2 separate regions of the Homo sapiens genome follow, and region 2 is linked to region 1. The links are contacts of gene promoters, found by promoter capture Hi-C in blood cells and fetal thymus (Javierre and others, 2016). All regions are on one chromosome and are shown on one strand. The core of a region is centred on a gene start or on the middle of the fragment in contact, and the rest is flanking DNA. Distances in the headings are between cores, read along the strand shown. Region 1 holds the start of MIR1-1HG (MIR1-1 host gene). Region 2 holds the start of NTSR1 (neurotensin receptor 1).

Region 1 (6,378 bases), core at 1,700-4,199:
TCATTCACCCCCACCCAGGCCTTCCCTGACCTCTGACCTCTGACCTGCAAGGCGGGACTCCAGGCCCTGCCCCCTGCTCCCCGGCTGCTCCTTCCGGCCCCCATGCCTGGCGCTGGGCCTGTCTCCACATTCCCTGGGCTGTGCATTTTCTCTCTCCCCCGCTGTCCCATACGGCGCCAGCTACATGAGCCTCCTGAAGCTGAAACAAATCAAAGCTGCACTGACTAAAAAATCCAGGTCTGCAGGGGCACCAGCCCCGTTTCTGAGAGCTTGGCAGCCACCGTGGCCAGTGGGAGCCGTGTGAGACAGGGCAGAGCACTCACCGTCATGGCGTGTTCCACCGGACGGGGCCTCGTGGTCAGCCCCGCAAGGGCGGGGTGAGCCTGCTTGTCCCCTGCTTGGGTCCTTGCTCAGGCGTCCCTGTGGGGCGAGGGCTGTGGTGGCCTTGCTGTCGGGGCTTACTGCTTGCTCCTTCATTCATTCACGCCTTAAACCACCTGCAGACACCAAGGGGAAAGTCTCGGGGGCCTAGGCCCTTCTCCCCTCTCTTCCCCTTCTGCCCCCTCTACCCCGTCTCCCCCTTCTCTCCCCTCTCCCCTCCCTCCCGTCTCTCCTACCCACTGCGGTCTCCCTTTCAAATCATGGTGGAGTGGGCCACGGGCAGCACGGCCCTGGGCCGTCAGGGGCGAGGGCTATGGGCTCTGACTTTACTGCCCTGGCGAGGACAGCCGTGGACATGGTGGGGGCCAGAACACACCCAGCTCCGATCAGTGCTTGGTATGGGACCTTGGGAGAGTGAGGCACCCACCCTGAGCCCACGTTCCTTCTCCGTAAAGTGGGGACAGCAAAATGCTCTCCTCTTAGGGATGCCTTGAGTGCAGCATAGAGCCCCTGCAGAAGCTTCTGGAACACCAGGCAGCCTAAGTGCTGTGTGCCGGCTGTTACTGTGAGGCTGGTGCTATGGGTAAACGGGGGAACTGCTCTGTCTTCTGGCTCTGTCCTACGGCCTGGGGGCTGTCAGATCTGGCCACCCACACCAGCCCTTCTCCTGGAAGGAGATGGCCCTGTGCCCGTGCCCTGGTCCGTGGGTGTGGGGCTGCCGTGAGGAGGGTGATTTATGGCCACGTCTGCTGCATACCCTCTCTCTCACCACCACAAAGCACCCGCATCCTTTACAGAGCCGCCTGCCCAGGCCTGCAGACTGCTCCCCACCTCCCCCATTGTGGCTGTCTATGCCCCTGACCCCAGCTGCAGGCCTGGCCTGCCCCCCTCAACCCTGCCTGGAGACGGCAGGCAGGAGGAAGTGGGCTGCAGGGGAGGGGCCTTGCAGGGGGAGTTTGGACACCACACCTCACACCACGCTCTCCCGCTGCCAGTGGGAAGCCGAGTGGCTATTTAGTTTCCAGAAAAGTGCTCAGACCAGGTAGAAGCTTAAAACCTCCTGGCCTCCTTTATGGTGAGACATGGGGTCTTTAGCGGGGCGTACAGGGCTGGGAGAAGGGCCTGGCATCACTCAAGAAGCCTCTGCACTGGGCAGGTGCAGGGGGCGTCCCTCTGTCCCTCGCTGTCGCTGGCCGGAGGACACCAGAGTGGGTGTCGGCGTGTGTGGCGAGTGTGGCTGGGGCTCCGGCTTCTCCCCATGACTCTGCAGAGCCGGCCTTGGGATGTGGGGAAGGGGCCGTGAGCCCAGGAGGTGAACCTGGAGGAGAGCCCTGCCTCAGCTCCTGTGGGCCAGCCTGGGGGGTGTGCAGGCTCCTCAGGGGCTCCCCTGGGATTAGATGCAGCTGAGCCTGTTCTGAGCGGCATAGACTCCCCGGCCCTGTGTCCCTAACTGGCCAGAACCACAAGGGGATGCCTTCCTAAGTCCGGGAGGCACTGGGGACATTTATGAGGTGGCTTCTGAACAGGAGGACCTATGCTCTGGACAGGACTCACAAATACCAAAGCTCATTGTCCCCATCACACGGGCCTGTGCCTGCCACCAACGAGCGGGGTCCCCGGACCACTGTGGTCCACTGTCATTCCACGACCTGGTCCCCAGTCCTGTGGGGCCCCAGAGAGATGGGACGACCAGCCAGCGTCACACAGCCTGTGAGGACAGTCTGCCAGTTCAGGCCTCTGGTCTCTGCGTCCAGGCCCTGCAAGGACAGATCCCCGTCAGGCCCCGTCCCAGGCCCTCGTCTGTTACATAATTCGGGCGTGAAATCCCGGAAGGGGGAGCTCCTGAGCCCGTCCAGCACCCGGGATTGGGGTCTCCCCATCACACACCCTTGGTGGCAGGGCCTGGCTGGGGGCGGCAAGCAGGTTGACCTTGCCTCTGTCCAAGGCGACTGGCATTTGTCATGACTTGGGGTTGGCTTGAGAGTCTCCGGAAACCCAGGTGGCTCTGTCACCACCTGATCCTGGCCCCAATTCTAGGCAAAAGGGCAGAGCCGATGGGACTGTGGAGGGGGCCACCCACTCCTGGTGGCCTGGGTGGGCTCAGCCCACTGGAGGCTCAGAGCAGCGAAGGAGGCCGTACCATTCTGCCCGCCCCCCCCACCCCCGGCCCTGCAGCCTGGGAGATGCCCGGGTCTCCCCAGGGCACCCTAGGAGCCGGCTGGCATGGCATGGAGGCTGCTGCCCGGCTACTGAGGAGGCGCCTCTGTACTGGCTGGGCTAAAAATAGCGGGGGGATCTCGGGCAGGGACAGCCGGTGGGAGGCCTGTCAGGGAGGGGCCGGGAGGGGCAGGACAGCAGCCTGAGCCCGGGACCCGCCGTCAATGGCGTGGGTGCTCCCACCCTGTTCCCGGTGGCCGGGCCAGCCGCGGCCCAGCTGACAGGCTATTTTTTCCCCTGCTTGACTAAATATGGTCAGGGAGCGCAGCCCGAGGGGGCCACTTGGCCAGGGCCGCGTGTTTGGGATGCTTGGCCGGGTATATAAGAACTGCAAAGGTGAGGCCGGCTCCTGACCCGAGGGGGGCCCCCACGCCCGCTCTGGCCTCTCAGGTCAGGCCCTCCCCTCCCCTCCCCTCCCCTCCCCCGCCCCTGTGTCTCCGCGAGCCGGCTGTGTGCCTGCGAGAGCGTGCACACCCGCGGGACCTTCCCTTTTGTTCCACCCTGACCTCTACCTTCTCTACCTTGTGCTGACCCCGCTGGGGTGCAGGGGTTCCCTTCGGAGGAGGCCGGGGCTCAAGGTGTGCAGCTCGGCCGCCTCTCCCTAACTCTGCACCAGCGCCTTCTCTCTCTCTCTCTCTCTCTCTCTCTCTCTCTCTCTCTCTCAAGATCTCCCTCCTGCTAAGTCTGCGCTGCTGCAGGAGGGCTGGGGGAAGGGCAGGGGTGTGGAGAGGGGGTGCCTGGTGTCTTCTTTCTCTCTCTGCCCCCACCAAGTGCGGACGCATCGAGCTTCGGCCCCCACCCCTGCATTCGCGATTGGCTCCCGGAGGAGGTGGCTGGTGCTGCCGCCGCTGCAGCATCTCCTAGGGAGCCGCGACCCTGCGCCCGCCGCCGCTGCCGCTGTCACCAGCCCGGCCCCAGGGGTGCCCTGGGCTCCGCGGTGAGTCCTGCTCAGCCCATCACCACCGCTGGGCCGCCGGGACGGCCCCTGCAAACTTGCCGGGCACCGCGGTGGGGGGTGTGCCTGCCAGCGAGGTGGGTGCTGCGGGTGCCGGCGCCGTGCGGCTCCGGCGGGGGTGCCGTGGAGTTTTCTCTTGGCTCGCGGCATCATCCACATTTGGAAAACTGCAGAGCCAGCAGCCGGCAGGGCCTGGAGGGCGCGTCCAGCTGGGAGGCAGGAACTTTGACTTGCGGGCATTTTGCAAGAAAGCAGCGGCCCCCCACGCGGGCAGTGGATGGCATGGGGGCTTCGGGGCTGGGCTGGGGGCGCGATTCACCTGCCGCTCCGCAACAAAGCCCCGGCAGCCGGGCGTGGGGCTAAACTTACCTTGAACTTGCAGTATCCCCCACTGAGGTGCTGGTGGGGGGCAGGGATTCCCGAGCTGAGCGGCGGCGAGGCTGCCCCCGGCCGGGACTCGGCACTTCTGCAGCTCTCCCAGCCACGTCAGGGTCAGGAGGCGTTTACAGGGGCAGGGCGGCGAGGTGGGGGGCGGGGGGCACATGTGGGCGGAGACTAGGGGGGCTTCGGGGAGAGCAGCCCTGGTGGTCGGCGTCTGTGCAGGTCCCTGCTGGGGAGCTTGACTTCCCGCGTGGCCTCCCGCGGCGCTGATGCCGGGGGCCGGGCGGTATTCACCGCTGAAGAGCCCCGGAGGAGGCCCCGGGCACAGGAGCCAGCTCGGCTCACGGTGGGGTCTGCTTGGAGGCGGCTGGGTGCTCTTTTTCTATGCAGACGGGAAACTTTTTGAAAAGTGACTACAATTCATTTGTGAGTGGGCAGAAGTCCTGTGGACTCTGGCTGGGTCTGGGGTGACTCTCCTGCCCTTTGGGACTCCCAGCTTTCCCCTTGACCCCCAGACCCCGTCCAGATGAATGCCTCACAGGTCGTGGGGGCTTGAGCCAGGCTGCGGGAGTGTCCCAGGCTCTGAGAGCTCATGTGCCAGGGAGCTGGGGACGTTGAGGAGGCCTTTTCCCTGGACTCCGGGGACGGTTATTGCGGAGGTCTTGGGAGGGCACAGATGAGCGGCGGAACCCAGGTGCCCCCGAAGTTGAAGCTCAGGCTGCGGTGTCGGGTGCCCTTTTTGTATCCTTGGCTACGTGAAAATGATAAATCACAGCAGCTACGTGGAAATGGGACATCAGCTTCTGCTTCTGTCTGCCATTTGCTCCTTCCTTTGTAGAGGGGATGCCTCCAGAGCCTTAAGCACAACCCCCACCCCCCGCCCCCACCCACCCCCACGTGAAACTCCAACCCAGCCATGCCCAGCTGCAGACCCACTGCCACACAGCCACAGCATGCTCAGTGGCCTCTGCACACTGCAGGCTCTGCGGAGACATTGCCCTGCCCTGGGTGGTAAGAGAGAACCAACTCGCTCCGGGCTGTCCCCTCGCATGGACGGGCTGCCTGGAGGAGCAACAGAGTCATGTTGGACCTCTCTTCCTGATGAGGACAACGGGAGGTCCTTTCATGTCCCGGGGCTGCTGTCCCACCCCACGCCAGGGTCAGTGGCAGGACAGGGGCCAGGGCCCAGCTGGACCCCACCGCTTAGCAAGCCTCCTGTGTCTGTGCCCGGCCTGCACCCCCAACTGGCGCCTCCCTGGCCCCCGTCCCCCCCAGGCACCTGCAAAGCCTTCTTTCCACCTCTCACCACCGCACGTGCCAGGCTCGCCCTGGGCCACTGCGAGGCCTCGAAACCCTGCAGGCCTCCTCCTCCTCCTCCTCCTCCTCTCCCCGCTCCCAGCAGGTTCGGGGCGGCTTCCCTTCCTGCTGGTGAGGGCCTAACCTTGAGGTCCCATTGGTCTCCTTCTGGCTCTTTCTCCACATTTTTCAGAGTCTGGCTTCACGGCTGGTCATAGAAGTTGGCAGGGAAGGAGGCAGCCTCTGCTTCCCACTCAGAGACATTTTTAAACGCAATGAAAAACATATCGATACAATTAAGTATTCCAAAGTGCTTAGTTTGCCACTCGCTAAGTTTACTTAAACCCTCTTTAACAGGCTCATTAGGAGCTGGTGAGCACCGGGAAATTCATTAACAGGAAGGCGGCCCCCTGCATTTGACTGTAAATTGGTATTGATCAGGGGCTGGTGGAGGCTGGGCGGCTGGCCACAAAGAGCCAGGTGTGGGACCAGCCTCCCGGGGGTGCCACGGCAGTGGCGCTGGGCAGGTGACGGTGGCTGCTGACCCCCGGTGCCCATGTAAGCTGCTGGCTCTGCGCAGCTGCCGCTTCAGGTGGGCCGCACTGCGCGGCGGTTCAGGGTGGTGACGCTGCGAGGCGGGGACGGGGGAGAGGGTGAAGAAGAGCGAGAGAAGGAGGGAGAGAACCGGGGGAGCGACGCTCCCTCGCCCACTGGGTGTCTGCTGTGGCCAGGCTGAGGCACCTAGGGAGTTGCCCCCCTAGTGGACGGCCTCTCAGGAGATCCTGACCACCCTCTGGGAACCTGGACTCCTCCAAGCATCGTCTTTCTCGCCTGCATCTTCGGAGAGAGGTGCTGAGCCCTTCCTCATGGATACGGGGTCCCGGGAGGCAGCCTTCACCAGGGACCTGCCCAGGAAACCAGCAGATGCCCAGGTAAGCCCCCAGGACACCTCTCGGGTCTCTGGTCTGCAGTTCCTCGTCTGGCCTCAGGAGCAAGGAGTTGTCCAGCTCCCGGAGAAGGAGGAGGCTGGTCCTGCGAGTGGGGTGCTGGGCAGGGCGCCCCCCAAGGTTCCTCTCTCCACCCAGCCCTCTCTGGGCTTGGCTGGGATGAGGTGACCCAGGGGGACAGGAAAGTGTTGGCTTTGAAAG
Region 2 (6,378 bases), core at 1,384-3,883, 160 kb after region 1:
TTTAAGCAAATGCTCCAACACAATATTTGCACTATGTTGCCTTTTATGATTTTGTAAGCTCCCAGGCCAACTCACAGATAAATCTTTGAAAATAAGGGCAGCTTAGCCAAAAGGTCAGGGGTTTAAAAACCAAACAATGAGCTTAGGCAGAGGGAGAGCACAATCGCTGCATCCTCCTGCTTTGGCTGGCAGAGGGACAGACTCCAGTGGCCATTGCTGTGGACTTCCTCTTTGTGGGGGTCTCGACAGAGGCGCCTGATGGCCCAGCCCGTGGTCAGGCCCCAGTGTTACCAAGACAGTGGTGAGCGCCTGGACCTCACACTGTCCAGCACCTGTACTCCCTGGCATGGTGTGGATGCTAAGGTCCCCGCCCAAACCTCTGTACTTGGCCGGGCGCAGTGGCTCACGCCAGCAATCCCAGCACTTTGGGAGGCCAAGGCGGGTGGATCACGAAGTCAGGAGATGGAGACCATCCTGGCTAACATGGTGAAATCCTGTCTCTACTAAAAATACAAAAAAATTAGCGCCTGTAGTCCCAGCTATTCGGGAGGCTGAGGCAGGAAAATGGCGAGAACCTGGGAGGCGGAGCTTGCAGTGAGCCAAGATCGCGCCACTGCCCTCGAGCCTGGGTGACAGAGCGAGACTCCATCTCAACAAATAAAAAAAATAAAAAAATAAAAAAACCTGTGTACTTAACTGGTGAATCGTGTCTTCCAGAGGACAAATCTGGCCTACTCCAGCCTATTCTAGTTGGATGGAACACCTCACCTCACACCCGACAGCCCATTCGACCTCGTTCATTCCCCGTGGAGACCCATCAGTAACAGCCCTGCCCTTCATTCAGCCGCTATTCCCATTTTACAGACGACTCAATCGAGGCACAGAGACGCTAAGCACACTCGCCCAAATGTGAAGTAGCAGGGCCAACATTCAATCCTATCTACTGGCTTCCAGCAAAGGGATCACTGGCGTTTCCTTTGATGCCAAGATTTCTAAGCTCTGATGTTTGTGAGCTGCAGCCCCCTGACAAGAGTATCAGGCTCCGGTTGAACAGAGAAGTCCAAAGCAGGGCGAGAACGGACGAATAATCACAGAGTCCCGCTGCCAGCCACCGGCTCAGAAGCCTTGAATTCTCCTAGCTGGGCGGGCCCGGGAGGGGGTTCCTCAGCCTCCCGCTTCCCTCAACACCCTGCGACCCCCGCCCCAGCCTGCCCAGGTTTCCTGCTCCCAGCACAGCAGGTGCAGCCAGCCATGTGCACAAAGGCCAGGCTGGTTCCCTGGGCTGCACTCGAGCAGCTCCTCCCAGCCCTGCACACATGGGGCAGCAGCTCTACCCAACCTCTCCCAGGGGTTCTGGGGAGGAGGGAGCAGGGGAGGGGGCGGGGAGGGCCCAGAGAAGGGACAGTAGTGCCCTGGGGGCCCCTGGGCAACCCAGACATGGAGGGGGGGGCAAGCTTGTGCCTGGCCACCTATGCCAGTGCCACCAGGTGCTGGGGGGGACACGGAAAGGACAGGAATCTTGCCCTCACCTGGCTCCCGAGCCAGGGGCCGGGGCACCCTGTGAGGACACTCAGAGGGAGGGAGTGTGCAAAGCCTGCAGGGCCTGGGAGGATGCGTGCTGGGGCTGCCTCTCCCAAATCCTGCTGGGGCGCAGGCTCTCAGGGTGGCTTCTGATGACAAATCCAGGCAGTAATAAGGGGCCCAGGGCATCACATCCCATAGCGTCATGAGACCAGCCCAGGGTGCCAGATGCAGGGCCCTGAGTGGGGAGGGTGCTGCTCTGGGCACCTGCTTTCTGCCCTCCCTCATTCACCCCTCCCCAGACTTTGATGAAACCATCTGTGGCTCCCGGCCTCTGCAGGACCCAGCCCCTCAGCTCCTCAGCCCCTGCAGGTGTCCCTCGGTACTGCCTCACGCCATCCTGCCCCAGGTGATAACTATGCCCTGAGCCCCCACCATTTCCACTGGGCACATCCCAGAAATACGCATTCACAGACCAGGCACGCCCATGACTGCGGCCAGATTTTAAAAGGAATCACCAGAAATGTAATCTCCAGTGGTCCTAGAGCCCCCTGGGCACCCAGCTTCTGGCACCCTGTGGACACCCAGGAGTGGGGGTCGGCCCAACCAGCTGCGCAGCCGCCCAGCCCTGCCAGCGGGGAGCTTCCTCCCTCCCTGCCCTCCGGATACACCCTCACCCCAACTGAGCGAGCCCAGGGTTGGGGGAGGTGCATAGTTCCCTTCCTAGCCGGTGCGAGAAATTGCGGAGAACAGGGAAGAGGGTGGCAGGAAGGGTCTGGTGCACGATACCCGCCGCGCCCGCTCGGAATCCTGGTTCCCTGGAGCGCTCACCCCAGCCCGCCCTGCCCCGGGGAGCGCGAGGGGGCGACCCGCCAGGCTGCACCCGGGCGGGGCGGGGATGGCGGCGGGGGCTGCCTCCCTCCTCCGCCGCCACCCCCCACTGCTGGGCGCGCCGCGCGGCCGCCGGCTCCGTGGAGACGCGCAGAGCCGGGAGGGCGCGGGCGCGGCGGGAGGTGTGCGGGGCTGGGGTGCGCGGAGAGCGCGAGGGAGGAGATTCTGAGCGAGGGAGGGGAGCGCGCCCGGGCAGCAGTGCGTGCGCTCCTCCCGGCGCCACAAGCTCGCCCCGCGCAGCCCGAGCCGGGCTGGGCGCTGTCCTCGGGGGCCTGGGGAACCGCGCGGTTTGGAGATCGGAGGCACCTGGAACCCGTGGCAAGCGCCGAGCCGGGAGACAGCCCGAGGAACCACGGGTTCTGGAGCTAGGAGCCGGAAGCTGGGAGTCCGGAGGAGAGCGGAGCCCGGAGCCCGGAGCCCGGGGCGGCGCGTCTGGGTCTGGCGCTTCCCGACTGGACGGCGCGCCCGCTGGTCTTCGCCACGCGCCCTCCCCTGGGCTCCCGTTCATCGGTCCCCGCCTGAGACGCGCCCACTCCTGCCCGGACTTCCAGCCCCGGAGGCGCCGGACAGAGCCGCGGACTCCAGCGCCCACCATGCGCCTCAACAGCTCCGCGCCGGGAACCCCGGGCACGCCGGCCGCCGACCCCTTCCAGCGGGCGCAGGCCGGACTGGAGGAGGCGCTGCTGGCCCCGGGCTTCGGCAACGCTTCGGGCAACGCGTCGGAGCGCGTCCTGGCGGCACCCAGCAGCGAGCTGGACGTGAACACCGACATCTACTCCAAGGTGCTGGTGACCGCCGTGTACCTGGCGCTCTTCGTGGTGGGCACGGTGGGCAACACGGTGACGGCGTTCACGCTGGCGCGGAAGAAGTCGCTGCAGAGCCTGCAGAGCACGGTGCATTACCACCTGGGCAGCCTGGCGCTGTCCGACCTGCTCACCCTGCTGCTGGCCATGCCCGTGGAGCTGTACAACTTCATCTGGGTGCACCACCCCTGGGCCTTCGGCGACGCCGGCTGCCGCGGCTACTACTTCCTGCGCGACGCCTGCACCTACGCCACGGCCCTCAACGTGGCCAGCCTGAGTGTGGAGCGCTACCTGGCCATCTGCCACCCCTTCAAGGCCAAGACCCTCATGTCCCGAAGCCGCACCAAGAAGTTCATCAGCGCCATCTGGCTCGCCTCGGCCCTGCTGGCGGTGCCTATGCTGTTCACCATGGGCGAGCAGAACCGCAGCGCCGACGGCCAGCACGCCGGCGGCCTGGTGTGCACCCCCACCATCCACACTGCCACCGTCAAGGTCGTCATACAGGTGAGCCTCAGTAACCAGCCCCGGGGCTCCCCTCTCCTTCACCCCAAAAGCAGTGCCAGTGGTGTGCCTTCTGGGTAGGGAGTGGGAGAGATGTCACAGAGACAGTCTACTCCTGCGAGGCTGGGAAGGCGGTTGGGGCAGCTTGGGGGCAGCTCCAGAGTTGCCAGGCTCAGCCCCTATCTTCTTCCCTCCTGTTGAGGGGATGGAGCCCCTGCCTGTGACCTCTCTGGTGTTGGTGGCTGGGCCTCGGACATCTCTGAATTCCTTAAGCCTAATGGAAACATGTGCGCTGGCACCTGCGTCTCCAAAGGAAGAGTAACACTTTCATCAGCTTCTCAAAAGACTGTGCCACCAACAGGTGATGTTCCTTCCTCTGCAGAGAAGCCCCCAGACTGGCTCTGCCGGTGCCTCCCAGCTGCCTGCCCTGACCCAAACTTGGGAGTCAGAACAGAACCTGATGCCGTGTTGGGCCAGTTCCTAGTTTAGCCTCAGCTTTCCCATCTGTGTGATGGGGTAGTGATAGCATTGACCTCAGAAGGTAGAGCATTGGAGAGAGGACGCGTGGGAAGTGTTTGCATGGCCCCTGACACATAGAAGGGCTCACAGGCACTATTATTGCGGGATGGTGGGGACGATGTTTCTGCGGGGAAGGTTGTGAGGATCTGCGTGTGGCGGCGGTGTTGTGGTGAGGTGTGTAAAACTGGAGCCGAGTGACTAAGGGCCCTCCAAGGGTCTGAGCAAAGCGCCGTGGGAATGCGGGTGGGAAGCCCCCTTGGGAATCAGTTTGGCTGAGGTTCGTGGCACGGGGGGTTCCAGTGCTGGAGGGGAGGGCTGATCAAACCAAAGCCCCGAGCAGGAGGCTGGTGTCCAGGGAGGAAGTCAGGGCCGGTCGGGAACTTTGAAAGGCATCTTGGAAATGAGCAGCCTTAGAAGTGTGGGGTTTCCTCCATTTCTGGTGGGCTAAGGAAGCCAGAGGGTGAAGGATCCGGGCAGAGTCGCCTACCTCTGCCCAGCTAGAGGGGCCAGGGTGGCTGGCTGTCCCCCCAACTCCCCACACACCAGCATCGCCAGCCTCCCAGCTAAGCTTCTGTAGTTGCCTGGGCACCCCGCGTATGCCAGTATGCCCGGTGGGGGTGAGGGCAGCAGTGCCGGGCAGGGGGTCACCTGTCTGTCACTCCCTGGGCCCTAACTGACCCTCCACTGGCCACCACCCAGGTGGGCTGGGGGGTGGAGGAGGGTAGAACTGAGCTCCCAGTCTCCCTGGCTGCACATAGAACTGGTGGCTACAGGTGTCCCATCTCGGGGAGGCCCCTCCCACAGACACTGGTGGCAGGCAGTGAGTCAGGGCTGCTTTGCTTCTGCGGCGAGAGTCCCTCCCCTCACCAGAGGCAGAAGTAGGCACGGCCTGTGGGGTAAACACAGTGAGAAATGACCTCTCCCTCCCTTTGAGGCTTTATCTGCTCTCCCCAAGCTCCTGTCTTTGATTGGCATTGGCCAGGGGGAACCTCTCCCCAGTCCGCGTGGAGGGGCCCCAGGGGCGACAGCCACTCAGTCCTTCAGAAGGTGGGCAGTGGAGGGGTCAGCGCTGTCACTGCCCACCCAGGAGATGCCCCCACTCAGACCCCGGATCCCCCCACTCAGACCCCCGATCCCCCCGCTCAGATCCCCGATCCCCCCGCTCAGAACCCCGATCCCCCTGCTCCCCTGGCAAAAGGCCAGGAGCTCACCAGCCTCCTGCAGTCCTCAAAAACAAACAGCCGAAAAGCACAGGGGCGTGAGGACAGCTCGGCTCCGCCCCCCGGAAAGTGTCCTCCCCGCGTGCGTGGGCTCTCTGCCAGGTACTTGGGATTGGGCACCTGGGGGACATCACTTTGCCTCCCAAAGCACCACCTGCCCAGCCTTGTTGCTCAGAGGCTGCGAGGCAGATTTGGCCAAGTCACGCTACGGCCGGCCACAGGCACTCGTCCAATCGCAGAGGCCTGTGACGTATCAACCGTAGGACAGCGGCCCCACGCCCTGCAGACGCCATGCTGGCCGAGCGTTGCTGAAGGCACCCTTGGAGAACGTAGTTTCCATTTTTCTTTAAAGGGCTCAGCTGCGTGCCTGGGAGCAGCTGATTACAAGGGTGCTCCTCCATCCGATGCTGATGACCTGGGGCTTTCCAGGGCCCCGATGCCAGCTGCTCTGTGTGCTTGAAAAGAACATTCCTCGTAGGAGAGGCCTTGGCTTCCCCTGACCCCTGCCCCGCCATTTGCCATTTTATGAAAGGTTTCCCCGGAATTAGGGGGTTTACGGTCCCCACGTGGGCTTCTGGGCCATTGGCAGATCTGGGCAAACATCCACGGTTTTCAGATGGTGATGTCTGGCTGAAGAGGGGCTGGATACCCTGAGCTAAGTGTCTCCCTCTCAGTGACCATGTTTGGAAGTGTTGGGGCAGTGGCCAATCAAATGGCCCCTCTTTCCAAAACAGGGGTCCTTTCCTGCCCCAGCGTCTCCTACGAAATTTTGGCCTGGGCACTTGCAAACAGAAATTGTGTTTAGAAATGAGGTGGTTCAGTGATAACACTTTGGAGCAACTTACAATAATCCTCCCTGAAGCCAGCTGGGCATTTTCCTAGTGTGTAGCTGGGACTGGGAGTTGATGGTGGAGTGGGCAGGG

What was found. The method cuts DNA at HindIII sites, captures the fragments that hold promoters and counts their contacts. A CHiCAGO score of 5 or more calls a contact.
Region 2: the fragment with the promoter of NTSR1 here is called in contact with the fragment with the promoter of MIR1-1HG in region 1 in 2 of 17 cell types (neutrophils and M1 macrophages); the score reaches 7.3 in neutrophils.

What each region holds. Positions count from the first base shown.
Region 1 is chr20:62,547,504-62,553,881 of GRCh38, forward strand. MIR1-1HG (MIR1-1 host gene) reads left to right here and starts at 2,950. Exons shown (of 4, transcript NR_171007.1): 1 at 2,950-3,535; 2 at 5,962-6,162. CRMA (cardiomyocyte maturation associated lncRNA) reads right to left here and starts at 4,058. Exons shown (of 7, transcript NR_033263.1): 1 at 3,923-4,058; 2 at 809-958; 3 at 324-497; 4 at 45-199. RefSeq lists an enhancer at 3,037-3,912. The HindIII fragment of the contact is 7,236 bases long and covers 1,429-6,378 here.
Region 2 is chr20:62,706,203-62,712,580 of GRCh38, forward strand. NTSR1 (neurotensin receptor 1) reads left to right here and starts at 2,634. Exons shown (of 4, transcript NM_002531.3): 1 at 2,634-3,719. The coding sequence starts at 3,006. RefSeq lists enhancers at 1,598-2,111, 2,112-2,624, 2,834-3,380, 3,381-3,925. The HindIII fragment of the contact is 3,349 bases long and covers 1,453-4,801 here.